Linked DNA regions of Homo sapiens: all the other regions are linked to region 3. The links are contacts of gene promoters, found by promoter capture Hi-C in human tissues and cell types (Jung and others, 2019). All regions are on one chromosome and are shown on one strand. The core of a region is centred on a gene start or on the middle of the fragment in contact, and the rest is flanking DNA. Distances in the headings are between cores, read along the strand shown.

Region 1 (4,689 bases), core at 547-3,046, 110 kb after region 3:
CTCAGCAGCCAGAGTGGAAACAGAGTGGAAACACATGGAGCATCAGGTAGAATTCTCAGAAAGGTTTTGTTTTAGTAGTGCAGCTAATTAACTCTAGATTAAAAGCTACTCTGGACCTACAGTGTCCGGCATCCAAAAAAACTAATGTGTTATGCAAAGAAGCAATAAAATATGACTTATAACCAGGAGAAAAATCAGTAGAAACCCAGAAAAGACAGAGGTGATGGAATTAGTAGACAAGGATATTAAAAGAGCTATTGTAAATATAAAGTAGAGGAAAACATAAGATTGATGAAACCTGAGGTATAAGAGATATTTTTACTGGCCAAAATGGAACTTCTAGGGATGAAATCAACTTCTGATTTTGTTAAAATCCCGAGTGGAGAGATTAGATACAGAAAAAGAAGAAAAAATCAATGAACTTGAAGAGTAAGAATAAAAACTACCAAAGTGATATACAGAGAGAAAAAAAGACTTAGAGAAGAGGAAGAGAATAGGAAAACCATTACAGTAGTGTAATATATGTTTAACTGGAGTCCCAGAAGGAGAGGAGAAAATGAAGAGGCATGAAGAAGTATTTGAATAAATAATGGCTAAAGATTTTCCAAATCTGGTGAAAACAATACCCCCACATATTCAAGAAGCTCAAATGACCTGAAGTAGAATAAACATAATTTACATCACAGCAGTGCACCTCAGAGTCACATTCATGAAAAGCACTGATAAACAGAATACTTTTAAAACACCTTGAGAAAAAAAGATAATACATACACATGAACAAAGAATGGCAGCATATTTCTGGTGAGAACTATGCAAGCTATAAGACAATGGAGTATTATCTCTAAATTCCTTAATGAAATAAACAACAAACCCTGCAACCTAGAATTCTGTTACTGTCAAAAACGTTTTCAAAAATGAAGGCAAAATAAAGACTGTTTCTGAGAAACTAAATCAAAGGTAATTTTATTACCTGTAGACCTGTCTTTGGGAAACATTAAAGGATGTTTGAGGGCAGCAGGAAAATAATACAAAACTTAAGTTTGGGTCTGTACAAAGGAATGAAGTTCTGAAAATGGTGAATATGTGGGTAAATATAAAAGATATTTCTCTCTTTTTAAAATCTTTTTAAAAGGGAATTGGCTGCTTAAAGCCAAAGTAATGATAACGTATTTGGAGTTTATTTAGAAGTAAAGTGTGATGACGATAACACTTAAGTGTGAATTTTTAAATATAGTTGAGTAGACTGCATCATCTGAGTTAGAAGCCTATTCCTTCAGGGCTCGGGGTAGCTTGAATTTGTAGCAGGCACATGACAGAAATTGTATGTATTGTGGATCTGCATGTGTGCTGAGTATTCCCTATTTCTTTGATCCCTTTTCCCCCATTTTCTGCTCTGCTCCCCCCTGAGGCTGTCTTCTAGAGACTGGGGTTTCTTCATAGGTTTGAACAGTGGGAGATACCAGAGGTGGGAGGAGAAAAAGTTATTTATTACCGTTCCCTTCCTCCTGCCTGGACCATGGTAGCTTCTGTGTTCCCGTAAGGATACAGCTTCCTTTGGGAAGCCCCATCTATGGCTGTAGATCTCTCGGTTTCAGTTGACACCATTCCCTCTCCATGATCTTCAGACTTAACTACTACTGGGTGCTTCCCCAACCCACTGGTTGGGTGTCTTTAATTGTGAACACATATTTGTAAATAGTGCCTTTATTAATTGTTCTTGAGTTAATATTCTGAGTGTGCCATTTATTTTCTGTGCCATCTGTTAAATGATGAGCATTTAATAAAATTGTGATAATCAGTTATCAGTACAAGTGCCGCATAGTGCATAGGCTGAAATGTCTCAAGATTCCCCACACTACATATCAGTATTTTCTATCTGTATCTGGACAATGCAGTAGAAATTATAACAAATACAAAGTTCTTTGTGCTTTTCTGCTGCATATGTCAGTGGCTCTGGAGATTGTTACCATCTGCTACATATATAAATAGACTTGCAGTTATTACTAAGCTCCTCTTCAGTAATAGAAAGACTTATGAAGTCTTTTACTACCTCTGGGTTAGCCAAACAACCTTCAAAAAGCATTGTTATTTAGGTTAAATATCTGTGGACAAGAAACAAGATAATCAGTTACTGAGTGAAGAAAGACGGGAATGATGTCCCATACTTCCCAGCTCTCTAAAGTGTTATGCTGTACAATTAAAATACCCCTGACCCATCATCTGCTACCATTCGTTGTGGATAATTCATGTAATCTCTAACCTGTGGGCAAGTCTTTACCCTTCAGTAGTCAAGATTACGTTAGAGACTTCGTCCACGAATCCACACCACCTTTCCCATCAGTTCTCACCGGAAATATGCTGCCAAAAAGAAAATCAGCTTTTCTAAGATCAAGCCAGAGTTGCTTCTCTTACAACCTTACGGCGCTAATGCATTAAGTTGAAGTCGACTGCCAAAGAGGCCCAGCAGAGGGCAGCACCCCCATCATTTTTTTGAATTTCTCCCTTAGGAATTTTGCCTTCCTTTGTCTTCTGTCCACCAGGCCTTCTCTCCAGCTGGACACAAACCTCCTTTGAAGGGAAATAATTGCCGTTAGGCTTCACAGTAGTGCTTTTTCCTTTCACTTGGATTTGCATTTTAACCTGCATTTCGAAGATTTTTATACATGTTTTCTATTTCCGACAATGCCAGGAGGCTTCATTGACGTTGTAGTCTGTGTTAATAAACTTGTGTATCACTCTGCTCTGATCTTTTAGGAATTAACTTGCAAATGAAATGAATATGTTGGGACTTTGGCATAATTTGAATATAGCATTGTGTGAGTTGTGATTGTCTCTTCCTAATTGTGCTGTAATAACCTGTGTATGAGAATAAAATGATTTCCACCATCAGGATTCTCCCATGCCCCCCTTTATTTTGCCATAGACTAAAGGGGAAAGGCCATTCTCACTCTCCTTACCTTAGAAAATTTTATTTGCCTCATGATGACTGTCTGCCGCTTAGAAGTAGACAATATAAAATCTCATCACTATTTCACAAGAATAAAATTCAAATCAGTTATATCCAAAGTAACTTTTCAACTGGGGGTGGTGTCTCACACCTGTAATCCCAGTGCTTGGGGAGGCCAAATTGGGAGGACCGCTTGAGCCCAGGCGTTTGAGACCAGCTGGACAACATAGCAAGACTCATCTCTACAAAAAAAAAATTTAATTAGCCATGAGAGGCTGGGTGCAGTGACGCAAGCCTGTAATCCCAGCACTTTGGGAGGCCGAGGTGGGTGGATCACCTGAGTTCAGGAGTTCGCGACCAGCCTGAATAACATGGTGAAACCCCGTCTCTACTAAATACAAAAAAATTAGCCGGGCATGGTGGCACATGCCTGTAATCCGAGCTACTTGGGAGGCTGAGACAAGAGAATCACTTGTACCTGGGAGGAGGAGGTTGCAGTGAGCCGAGATCACGGCATTGCACTCCAGTCTGGGCAACAAGAACAAAACTCCATCTCAAAAAAAAAGTTAGCCATGATGGTGCATGTCTGTAATCCCAGCTACTTGGGAAGCTGAGGCAGAAGGGTCACTTGAGCCCAGGAGTTCAAGGCTGCAGTGAGCCATGATGGGGCCACTGCATTCCAGCCTGAGTGACAGAGTGAAACCTTGCCTCTTAAATGAATAAAAATAAAGTAAGCTTTCTTCAACAAGTTTTCTTCCAACGCCACACACTCCATCACCATATTAATTTAAATTATTTAGTATGTAGCAGATTTACTTTGAGACCAAATCTGTGAAGTTGGTGATGATATTTAATAATTCTTTATTTCCCTTATGGGATCTTTGCAACTTAGAACACAATTATTACTCATTGTATCCGGGTCATTTAACATCTTGTCAGAATGCTAACATTAAATAAACCAGGCCAGGCGCGGTGGCTCACGCCTGTAATCCCAGCACTTTGGGAGGCCAAGGCGGGTGGATCACGAGGTCAGGAGATCGAGACCATCCTGGCTAACACGGTGAAACCCCGTCTCTACTAAAAATACAAAAAATTAGCCAGGTGAGGTGGCCAGCGCCTGTAGTCCCAGCTACTCAGGAGGCTGAGGCAGGAGAATGGCGTGAACCTGGGAGGTGGAGCTTGCAGTGAGCCAAGATCACACCACTGCACTCCAGCCTGGGTGATAGAGCGAGGCTCTGTCTCAAAAAAATAAATAAATCAGGCGCTGGGCGCGGTGGCTCACACCTGTAATCATAACACTTTGGGAGGCTAAGGCAGGCAGATCACAAGGTCAGGAGTTCGAGACCAGCCTGGCCAATATGGTGAAACCCCATCTCTACTAAAAATGCAAAAATTAGCCGGGCTTGGTGGCACGTGTGTAGTCCCAGCTACTCCGGAGGCTGAGGCAGGAGAATCGCTTGAACCCAGGAAGCCGATGTTGCAGTGAGCTGAGATCACACCACTGCACTCCAGCCTGGGTGACAGAGCAAGACTCCATCACACACACACACAAAAAAACAGGGAACACCAAACTTATTTAGTGATACCTAAATCTCGAAATGTGCACAGCAAAAAGAATGTAGCTATCGAGGCATTCACTGTTAAGATGAAAAGAAATGTAAGTGAAGGGACATTTATAACTTGAAGTTCTCATTTAAGAATTACTGGCCAGGGCCGGGCATGGTGGCTCATGCCTGTAATCT
Region 2 (4,469 bases), core at 419-2,918, 78 kb before region 3:
GAAAAACTAGAACATGTTTGAATTCTAATGTGATGAATGTAGTATGGTGAGGTTTAATATGCAGCATAATAAAGTTTAATATAAGCTTCTGAGAATGGGGTGTAGATGTTTAGAGCACAAACAAAAGTATTGGTGTTTGCCATGAGGCGGAGGGATACTCCCACCATTCTTTCAGGAGTAGAAAAATGGGTGGGTTGGTTTAAATTACTTGTTTATTTATTTACACCTAACTGTACTAAGCAGTGATCAGAATATGTGAACTATATAATGTTTTGTGTTTCCTAAGAACTGTGTGGCAGCCACTGCTAATTACTAACCAAATATATATATTTTTTATTCTTTATGAATAGATCTTCAGTTTTGCTAACAGTAGTATTGTATTTAGCTACAAAACTACTTATCCCAACCTCTTTGTAGCCTTGATGCCATTTCTACTGTTCCTGGCCAGTAAAATATAGATATATGATTATAGGTTTCATGGTAAGATTATCTGCTAAGAGGAAGGTGGATGAAATTCTGCAAGGAGGTTTTAGTGAAGAAGATCTCTATGTATTTGAAAGTCCTTCCAAGTTATCAATAGAGCCATCAGTGGAGAAGACAGCAAAGCAAGTAGCAAAGTCTATGTGATTGAGGAGAGGTCATTTAAATAAAAGATAGCAAGGAAGAGAGGGAGAAAGTGGTATAACTAGATGGTATGAACTTCAAAGGAAGGAGTGGTTTTCTCCAGGCTGCAATGGTTAGAAGCAGTGTTAGGGAGTAAGGAAGATACTGATCCCACTTCCAACCTGTGGATATGTGGAATACATGAGAATAAGCCCCCTTGTGATGTGATTGTTGTCAGGTAGGTGTTTTTTCCTTCCCAGGGAACAGCCAAGTTTAAATTAATGAAAGGAAATGTTCAGGGAAATAGTTGAGGATATTAAGGGAGTTTATTAAGGGAATCTCAGAGGGCACCATGAAAGAGTCTCCAGAAGGGCAGGGGTTTAGGGTTTCTGGCTTTGGCCTGAGGAATACAGAAGATTGTAATGACATTATTGATAGAGGAAAAAAGACCAGATCAGGGGCTATGACCAGTGAAAACAAAATTTAGAGGGAGTATAGGTTAAATCCCAGCAGTCTGTAAGAAGATGATGGGTATTTAGGTCTACTGGGATTCATTTGTAGCTTGGAAAGGAGAGCCTGCAGTCATGCTGTGAAACCAAGTGGTTTCAGGTGTTAGCAGCCCTGGTGGGTATAGCACTAGCCATCAGTAGTTAGAAAATGGTCCCAACTGGCCGGGTGCAGTGGCTCACGCTTCTAATCCCAGCACTTTGGGAGGCCGAGGCAGGCGGATCACGAGGTCAGGAGATTGAGACCATCCTGGCTAACATGATGAAACCTCGTCTCTACTAAAAATACAAAAAATTAGCCAAGTGTGGTGGTGGGCGCCTGTAGTACCAGCTACTCGGGAGGCTGAGGCAGGAGAATGCTGTGAACCCGGGAGGCAGAGGTTGTGGTAAGCCGAGATCGCACCACTGCATTCCGGCCTAGGTGACAGAGCAAGACTCCGTCTCAAGAAAATCGTCCCAACTGCATGTGGTCCTTGGGTGAGATCATCTTAAGGAGTACTCAGCAAGGGATTGTACTTTGCTTGGTTAGGACTGGAATTTACACTCTAATTTTGGCCCAGTGATCTTGGAACAGATTGAGCATCTCAAATCTGAAAATCTGAAATTCAGAATGCTCCAAAACCTGAAACCTTGTGCGCCGATGTGACTTTCAAAAGAAATGCTCATTGGAGCATTTAAAATTTTGGATTTTCAGATTTGTGATGCTCAACTAGTAGGTATAATGCAAATATTCCAAAATCCAAAACAGTTCTGGTCCCAAGTGTTTTGAATAAGGAATACTCATCCTGTACACCAGGAGGTAGACTCAGGCACAGTCTCGCCCAGCATCTCACCTGGATTTTATTGCAATAGCCTCCTAACTGGTTTCTCTGACTTGAATCATACTTTCCTTTAGTATGTTTTCTATGCAGCTGCCATGGTATCCTATTAAAAAACAAAACAAAACAAAACAAAAACTTTGTGGTTTTTAATAATAAAACTAATACATGCATAGGAGAAAACAATGTAAATAACTTCTGCCCTACACAGAAGGAAACCCTGGATTCTACTGCCTTAAAAAATTAATATCGTAGGTGAATGTGCATTCTGTCAGACTTTATGTACATACAAACATTTTATAAAAATTGAGTTATACCTTTTATCCCACATCTTTTTTTTTTTTTTTTTTTTTTTTTTGAGAAGGAGTTTTGCTTTTTCCCAGGCTGGAGTGCAGTGGCACGTTCTCGGCTCACAGCAACCTCTGCCTCCTGGGTTCAAGCAATTCTCCTGCCTCAGCCTCCCAAGTAGCTGGGATTACAGGCATGTGCCACCACTCCTGGCTAATTTTGTATTTTTAGTAGAGACAGGGTTTCTCCATGTTGGTCAGGCTGGTCTCAAACTCCTAACCTCAGGTGATCCGCCTGCCTCAGCCTCCCAAATTGTTGGGATTGTGAGGCCATCGCCCCCAGCCTATCCAACATCTTTTTAAACATCTTTCCATGTCAGTGCATGTAGTTCTATTTCATTTGTAATAGCTGCTTAGTATTTGATTATATGCTTGTACCATAATGTATTTGATCCATTTGCCTCCAGAGTTTTTATAACAATACTGCAATCAATAATATTGTTTATATATTGTGCTTTCCTATCAACTGTTCTCTACACTTCCCAGGGTGATCCATCTAAAGTACTAACCTGATCACATAACATTTCACGTTTAATCTTCTTCTGGCCTTTTTCTCCAGTTAAGATAAAATCTTTTTACAAGACCTTGCTCAAACTCTTGCCTTTTCAGGCCTTATCTCTGGTTATTCCCTTTATCTTCACTGTCTCCCTAATTTAACCTGTCCTATTTATCCTTTAGGTATTGTGTCCTTCATCTGCTTTAACAATACTTGTCACACTTTCACACTGTATTGCCTGTTTGTGTATTGTGCCCTCTACACTGTAAGTTTTGGTAAGGTGGGAACTTTGTCTAAATTTTTCATTGTTTTATTACTTGGCCCAGTGTAGGTGTTCAGTTAAATATTTACGGTTCTTCAGCAAATTTTGTGCCTTTTCTTTTACTTACCATTCTAGTGGAAGTTTAACTTAAAAGCTATTTAAGTGATTGTAAGGTAAAAGTTGCAAGGAGGTGGGTGCAATGGCCTGTGCCTGTAGTCCTATCTGCTCTGGAGGCTGACGTGGGAGGATTGCTTGAGCCCAGGAGTTTGAGACCAGCCTGAGTAACATGAGACTCCATTATAGTAAAAATGCATGGAATTAATTTTTCTTCTAGGTATAGGAAAATGTTGCACCATAACAGGTGTGCAGAAACTAAGACTGTTAGGACAACAGCAGTTTAATGTTATTTATATTATGTCCCTCTCCTAGTCCTTCTCCTCTCTTCCCTCATCCCACTCACCACCACCCCATTCACTACACAGACTTATTTTTTGTAGAGCAAGTGTTCATATTCTGTTCCATTATGTATTATAATATGAAAAGGGATGAGTTGACCAAGTATTGGTGGGTGTGTCGTATACTTGCTTTAGACTACCAATGGAAGCGTAAATTAGTACAAACTTACTGGGTGGGTGTGGTGGCTCACATCTGTAATCCCAGCACTTTGAGAGGCTGAGGTGAGTAGATTGCTTGAGCCCAGGAGTTTGAAACCAGCCTAGGCAACATGGCAAAACCCCATCTCTACCAAAAAAAAAAAATTACCCATGGTGTCATGAATCTGTGGTCCCAGCCACTAGGGATGCTGGGGTAGGAGGATCACTTGAGCTGCAGTGGGGTTGAGTCTGCAGTGAGCTGTGTGCACCACTGCACTCCAGCCTGGGTGACAGAGTAAGACCCTGTCTAAAAACAAAAACAAACCAAAAAAAACTTGGGACAGTAAAGCAATAAATGTCCAAAGCTGGAATATTTATAACCTTTAAATATTTAAAACCCAGCAATTTTAAACTGAGATTTTATAAAAGGATTTTTCATGTATAAGTAACAATATTCACCTGTTTCATGCCCTAGTGAAAAACTGGAAAATTCCTAAATTCCCAGTAACAGTCAATAAAATGGAATATAATGCAGTCATTAAAATGTATTTGTGTGGATTGACATGTGGAGATATATTTGATACATTATGAATTTTAAACAGTCACAAAATATGGTATGACTTTTTAATGCATGTTATAAATATGTGTGTGTGCATTGAAAATATGGAAAGACATAACACCAAAGTTTTATCAATGGTTATGTCATAATTTTTTTCTTTTGTCTTTTTTTAAGATGTCTAGTTTAGTGAACAGAGCTGTGGTCTATTTCTTAAAAATAATTCTATCATTAACTTTTTAATAAATACTTTTTAAAGCATGATTTTAATATCTTCAAAGTTGTAAA
Region 3 (4,671 bases), core at 1,071-3,570:
ACTGACAAATTGAATACATTTAATGTTTATTGTGGTTACTGTTTTTCCCCCCTCCTTTCTTGCCTTCAAAGCCTCAATTTCTGTACTTGCTAAAATGGTGAAGATAAAGTGGACCTCACAATGGGAGTCTAAGAAACAAATGAGGTGTTAAAAGGAAAGCGACTGGGGCCTTGTAATAACAGTTACAGCTAACATTCCAGTGCTTTCTGTATGTGAGACAATATACTAAGCATTTTAAATTTAACTCATGCACAACCCTATAAGGCGTTTAACATAATCTCCATTTTACAGAGAGAAAACTGGGACAATGAGTGATTGTAAAATGTGCCTGTGATTGCACATTTAGTAAGTAGCAAAATTCAAATGTTAATTCTCTATCCTGCTATGTTCAAAGCATGAATACTAAAGTCATATTGTCATTTGTGCATATCTACATGCACAAACACACACAACATAAATCCTGGAGTCAGCTCCTATTCCCATGCACACATTCAGTCACTAATTCCCACAAAAATATAAATGAAGGACGCCCTGCCTCAACTGTATCACACTAACAAGCAGCACTTTCTTTTTCATGCCTTTTTGTGGTTCAAACTTCAGTGCCAACTCAGAAACACACAGCAGTTTCTCCCAGTTATACAAGAAATGACTCCTTTATACCTTAAATTGTGATAATACATAAATCTTAGAACAAAAGCTGGCACACAGTCATACGAAACATATACTAGCTATAATTATTATTATAAAAGTAATATATGATGGCAAAATATAAAAAACATACACAAGCTAAATAAGAACTATTATCTATGATCTCACCACAGGTAACCATTCTTAGGATGATGGAAACTATTGTGATATTTTTCATACAATGGAAGCATATGGTCATATTTAAAAGCTGTTTTTGTTTTTTTCCCATTATGTGAAGAACATCTTTCCAGGTCAATAACCTTATTTCTGTAAGATATAAACAACTCACATAAAATAACAAAAAAATAAAATCCGACTCATAATTGACAAAATACATAAAATATGTAGGAATATCAAGACCCATATGAAGCATACTAAAAACACCAATGAGAACTATAAAAATAGAATTAAAGAAATTTATAATTCGATTTTATTCTGGGATAGGAAGACTTCAGATTGTGAAGATAATTTGACCTCAAATGATTTATATAACTCATCGACTCCAATCAGAATCTCAAAATTCTAAAGTTTATGTGTAAGAAAAAAGGTTCAAGAACAATTCGGACACTTTTTTTTTTTTTTTGACAGGGTCTTACTGTGTTGTCCAGGCTGAAGTGCAATGGCATAACCATAGCTCACTGCAGCCCTGAACTCCTGGGCTCAAGTGATCCTCCTACCTCAACCTACAGAGTAGCTGGGGCTACAGGCATGCCCTACCACACCGGGCCTGGATGCTTTTGGAAATACAAAATAATGAGTGTGAACAGGCCCACTGTAATACATACAAATTATAATCATTATAACATTTGACACTGGCTCCAGAGAAGTTATACAGATGAAAAAAAGCAAACTGTCTAAATATGCAAGAGTCAGCATGCAATAAATGTAGCATTTCAAAGCCATCAGTAAAATTAAATTATTTAATGAATACAAGAATATTTGAAAGAAAATAAACGTAGCTATTTCATACAACTACTTTCAGTGGGTTAAATTTTAAAATAATGGAAACCCTAAGAATGTCTACAAAAAAAAACCACAGGTGAATGAATATATGTATAATTTGAGGGGAGATTTCGCTACACCATACCAAAAGCAAAAGTCACTTAAAAAATTTAAAACAGTCAATAAATATAACCATTAAAAAATACACGGCCAGGAATGGTGGCTCACACCTGTAACCCCAGCGCTTTAAAAGCCTCCTTCGATAGCGGCAGAGCCAGGCTGCTGGTGGATGCGGTCCAGCAGGGCAGCCGCTCCTTAGGGCCACGGCGCGGCAAGCGGGCTGGCCCGAGGTCGAGGCTAAACGCGCCCGAGGCTAAACGCGCCCGAGGCTGGCGCCTCCACGCCCGCCTGAAAGGACGCCCAGGAGCGGCGCCTCCGGAAAGGCCGTGCCCGCCCCACAGCCCAGAATCCGCGCAGCTCCGCGGCCCACGGCATCTTCACGACCCGGCCCAGCCCCAACCCGCCCCAGACCCGCATCCGCGCGCGGACGCCCAGGGCCTTGAAGCCGAAGCTCCCCGCGGCCACTCCCGCGCGCCTCCCCCGCCATTCCCGGAGCCCCCAGCGCCGGGCCCGCAATAAACTCACTGAACTCACAAAAGACGCCGCCGCCGAGTCGCGCCCGCGCGCCCGCGGCCTCGCGATCACGTGACACCGCCCGTCCCCCGTGTCCCGCGCACGCGCCCAAACCGTCGGCCTTTGTGCGCTCCCGGGCGGCTCCGAACGGGCCGGGACGAGTCGGGGACTGCACACGCGCACACTCGCACGCGCGCACACGCGTACACTCCCCTCTCACGTGGCAGCGAAGGACAAAGAGGAAGAACGGGCCACCTGCAAGCATTACCAAGAGTGCATGTGCGCATGCGCGAAGGAAGGAGCCCCGCGAACTCAACTTCCCACAGTGCCCCGCGTCCGGAAGTGCCTGTCGCTTGGAGACGGAGTGACTCCAAACGGGCTCACACGGTTTTCTGAGAAACATAAAGGGAAACCGAATCCACCAATATATATATATATTTTCTTGAGACGGCGTCTCGCTCTGTCACCCAGGCTGGAGTGCAGTGGCGTGATCTCGGCTCACTGCAAACTCCGCCTCCCGGGTTGACGCCATTCTTCTGCCTCAGCCTCCCGAGTAGCTGGGACTACAGGCGCCCGCCGCCACGCCCGGCTAATTTTTTTGTATTTTAGTAGAGACGGGGAGTCACCGTGTTGCCCAGGCTGGTCGCGAACTCCTGAGCTCAGGCAATCCGCCCGCCTTGGCCTCCCAAAGTGCTAGGATTACAGGCGTGAGCCACCGCGCCCGGCCCACCAATACTCAATTGGTTTGACTTCAGTTGAGGAAACCAGAAAAAATTTAAATATATTTATGGAAAGAAGGTAAGAATTAACAGAAAAAAGTAAAGTTGATCCATAACTGGAGTCGTAGGGAGAATTATAGGTAAGTCACGATGCTTATGACAGCAAGATGGGGCCGGGGAGATGGAGGAGAGAGATGAAAAAAGAGAAATAACCATAGACACATAGGAAATTGAATGAAAATCCGCTCTATACTAATAAATTTGATAATTTGTGACACAAATGATTCTCCAGGACAACATGGGCCAAATTTGACCCAATTTTATCCACAATTTGAAGACAAATTCAGAGATCCTTTGCCAGAAAGCATCATAATGAGTTGCTTAGTGAATTGCTTCAAACATCCAGTGATTAGAGAATTCTTATATTTATTCCCAGAGGTAGAACTCACCAGTGAAGTACTAGCATAAAAACAGACGCATGGACCAATGTGGAACAGCGTAGAAAAACCAGAAATAACCCCATGCATATACAGTCAACTAATCTTAGGCAAGTCAACTAATCTTGTGTCAAGAATACACGATGGGGAAAGGACAGTCGCTTCAATAAATAGCGTGAGGAAACCGGATATCCAAATACTGCTACGCAAAAGACCTCATTGCCCGATGTGCACAGAAGCCAATACTATGGCACCAGGCGTTTGAGAAAAGAAAAGCTTAATTGCGAGTTGACCAACAAAGTGACAGGAGTTTAGTTCAAATCTATCTCTCTGTGCTGCCCTTAAGGCAGCACTATTGTGAAAAAAGGTTTAGAGGGTGGATTCTGGGATTCACAGGTGAATGGTGAAGGAAAAAGGAAGTCTGGAAAGTCCCCGACCATGTGCAGTTGTCTCTTCAAGCCTCTTCTTGGGTCCCATGTGCAAATTAAGGTAGAGTTAGTGTGAAAAGTGCAGTGGAAATTCAGGCTGCGACATCAGCAAGCTCATTCTGCATGGACTCCGTTTGGTTATATTGGTTTCAACTGATTTCAGCCAGTTGTATTATATTACAAACGGAGTTTCAGCAAACTGTTTCTTATCTGCCATCCTGTAAGCTCAAGAATTTCTGTTAGCCGGACGCGGTGGCTCACGCCTATAATCCTAGCACTTTGGGAGGCCGAGGCGGGCAGATCACCTGAGGTCAGGAGTTCGAGACCAGCCTGGCCAACATGGTGAAACCCTGTCTCTACTAAAAATACAAAAATTAGCTGGGCGTGGTGGTGCACACCTGTAATCCCAGCTCCTCGGGAGGCTGAGGCAGGAGAATCGCTTGAACCTGGGAGGTGGAGATTGCAGCGAGCCGACATCGCGCCACTGCACTCCAGCCTGGGCGACAAGAGCGAGACTCCATCTCAAAAAAAAAAAATTCGTTAGTCACTGGTTTCTTTAACTATTTGGGGGCATGGTTTCACAACTTCTTCTTCTTCTTTTTTTTTTTTTTTGAGACAATCCCTCACCAGAATCTAGGCCTTTTCTAACCTGCTCCTCCAGACTCTTCCAAACTCTGCCCATTACCCAGTTCCAAAGCCACTTCCACATTTTCAGGATTTATTATTAGCAACAGCCCCACTCCTCAGTACCAATTTTCTGTCTTAGTTTATTTTCTATTGCTGTAACTGAATACCTGACACTGAATAATTTATAAAGAAAATGAA

What was found. Contacts are between HindIII fragments. The study calls those that stand out against the background at their distance.
Region 1: a contact is called between a fragment that was not itself captured here and the fragment with the promoter of ZNF84 in region 3, in 10 of the 25 tissues and cell types used here (H1 embryonic stem cells, IMR-90 fibroblasts, adrenal gland and 7 more).
Region 2: a fragment that was not itself captured here is called in contact with the fragment with the promoter of ZNF84 in region 3 in 6 of the 25 tissues and cell types used here (IMR-90 fibroblasts, dorsolateral prefrontal cortex, hippocampus and 3 more).

Annotation. Positions count from the first base shown.
Region 1 is chr12:132,919,658-132,924,346 of GRCh38, reverse strand. It overlaps ZNF605 (zinc finger protein 605), which reads left to right. Exons shown (of 5, transcript NM_183238.4): 5 at 1-4,689. Among named protein-coding and RNA genes, the nearest start is that of CHFR-DT, 34 kb to the right of the region's middle. The HindIII fragment of the contact is 5,257 bases long and covers 1-4,424 here.
Region 2 is chr12:133,113,207-133,117,675 of GRCh38, reverse strand. It overlaps ZNF891 (zinc finger protein 891), which reads left to right. Exons shown (of 2, transcript NM_001277291.2): 2 at 1-4,469. Among named protein-coding and RNA genes, the nearest start is that of ZNF891, 15 kb to the left of the region's middle. The HindIII fragment of the contact is 6,343 bases long and covers 1-4,469 here.
Region 3 is chr12:133,035,158-133,039,828 of GRCh38, reverse strand. It overlaps ZNF84 (zinc finger protein 84), which reads right to left and starts at 2,320. Exons shown (of 5, transcript NM_001289971.2): 1 at 2,284-2,320. ZNF84-DT (ZNF84 divergent transcript) reads left to right here and starts at 2,607. Exons shown (of 3, transcript NR_110091.1): 1 at 2,607-3,060. RefSeq lists a silencer at 2,214-2,393 and an enhancer at 2,614-2,703. The HindIII fragment of the contact is 8,441 bases long and covers 1-4,671 here.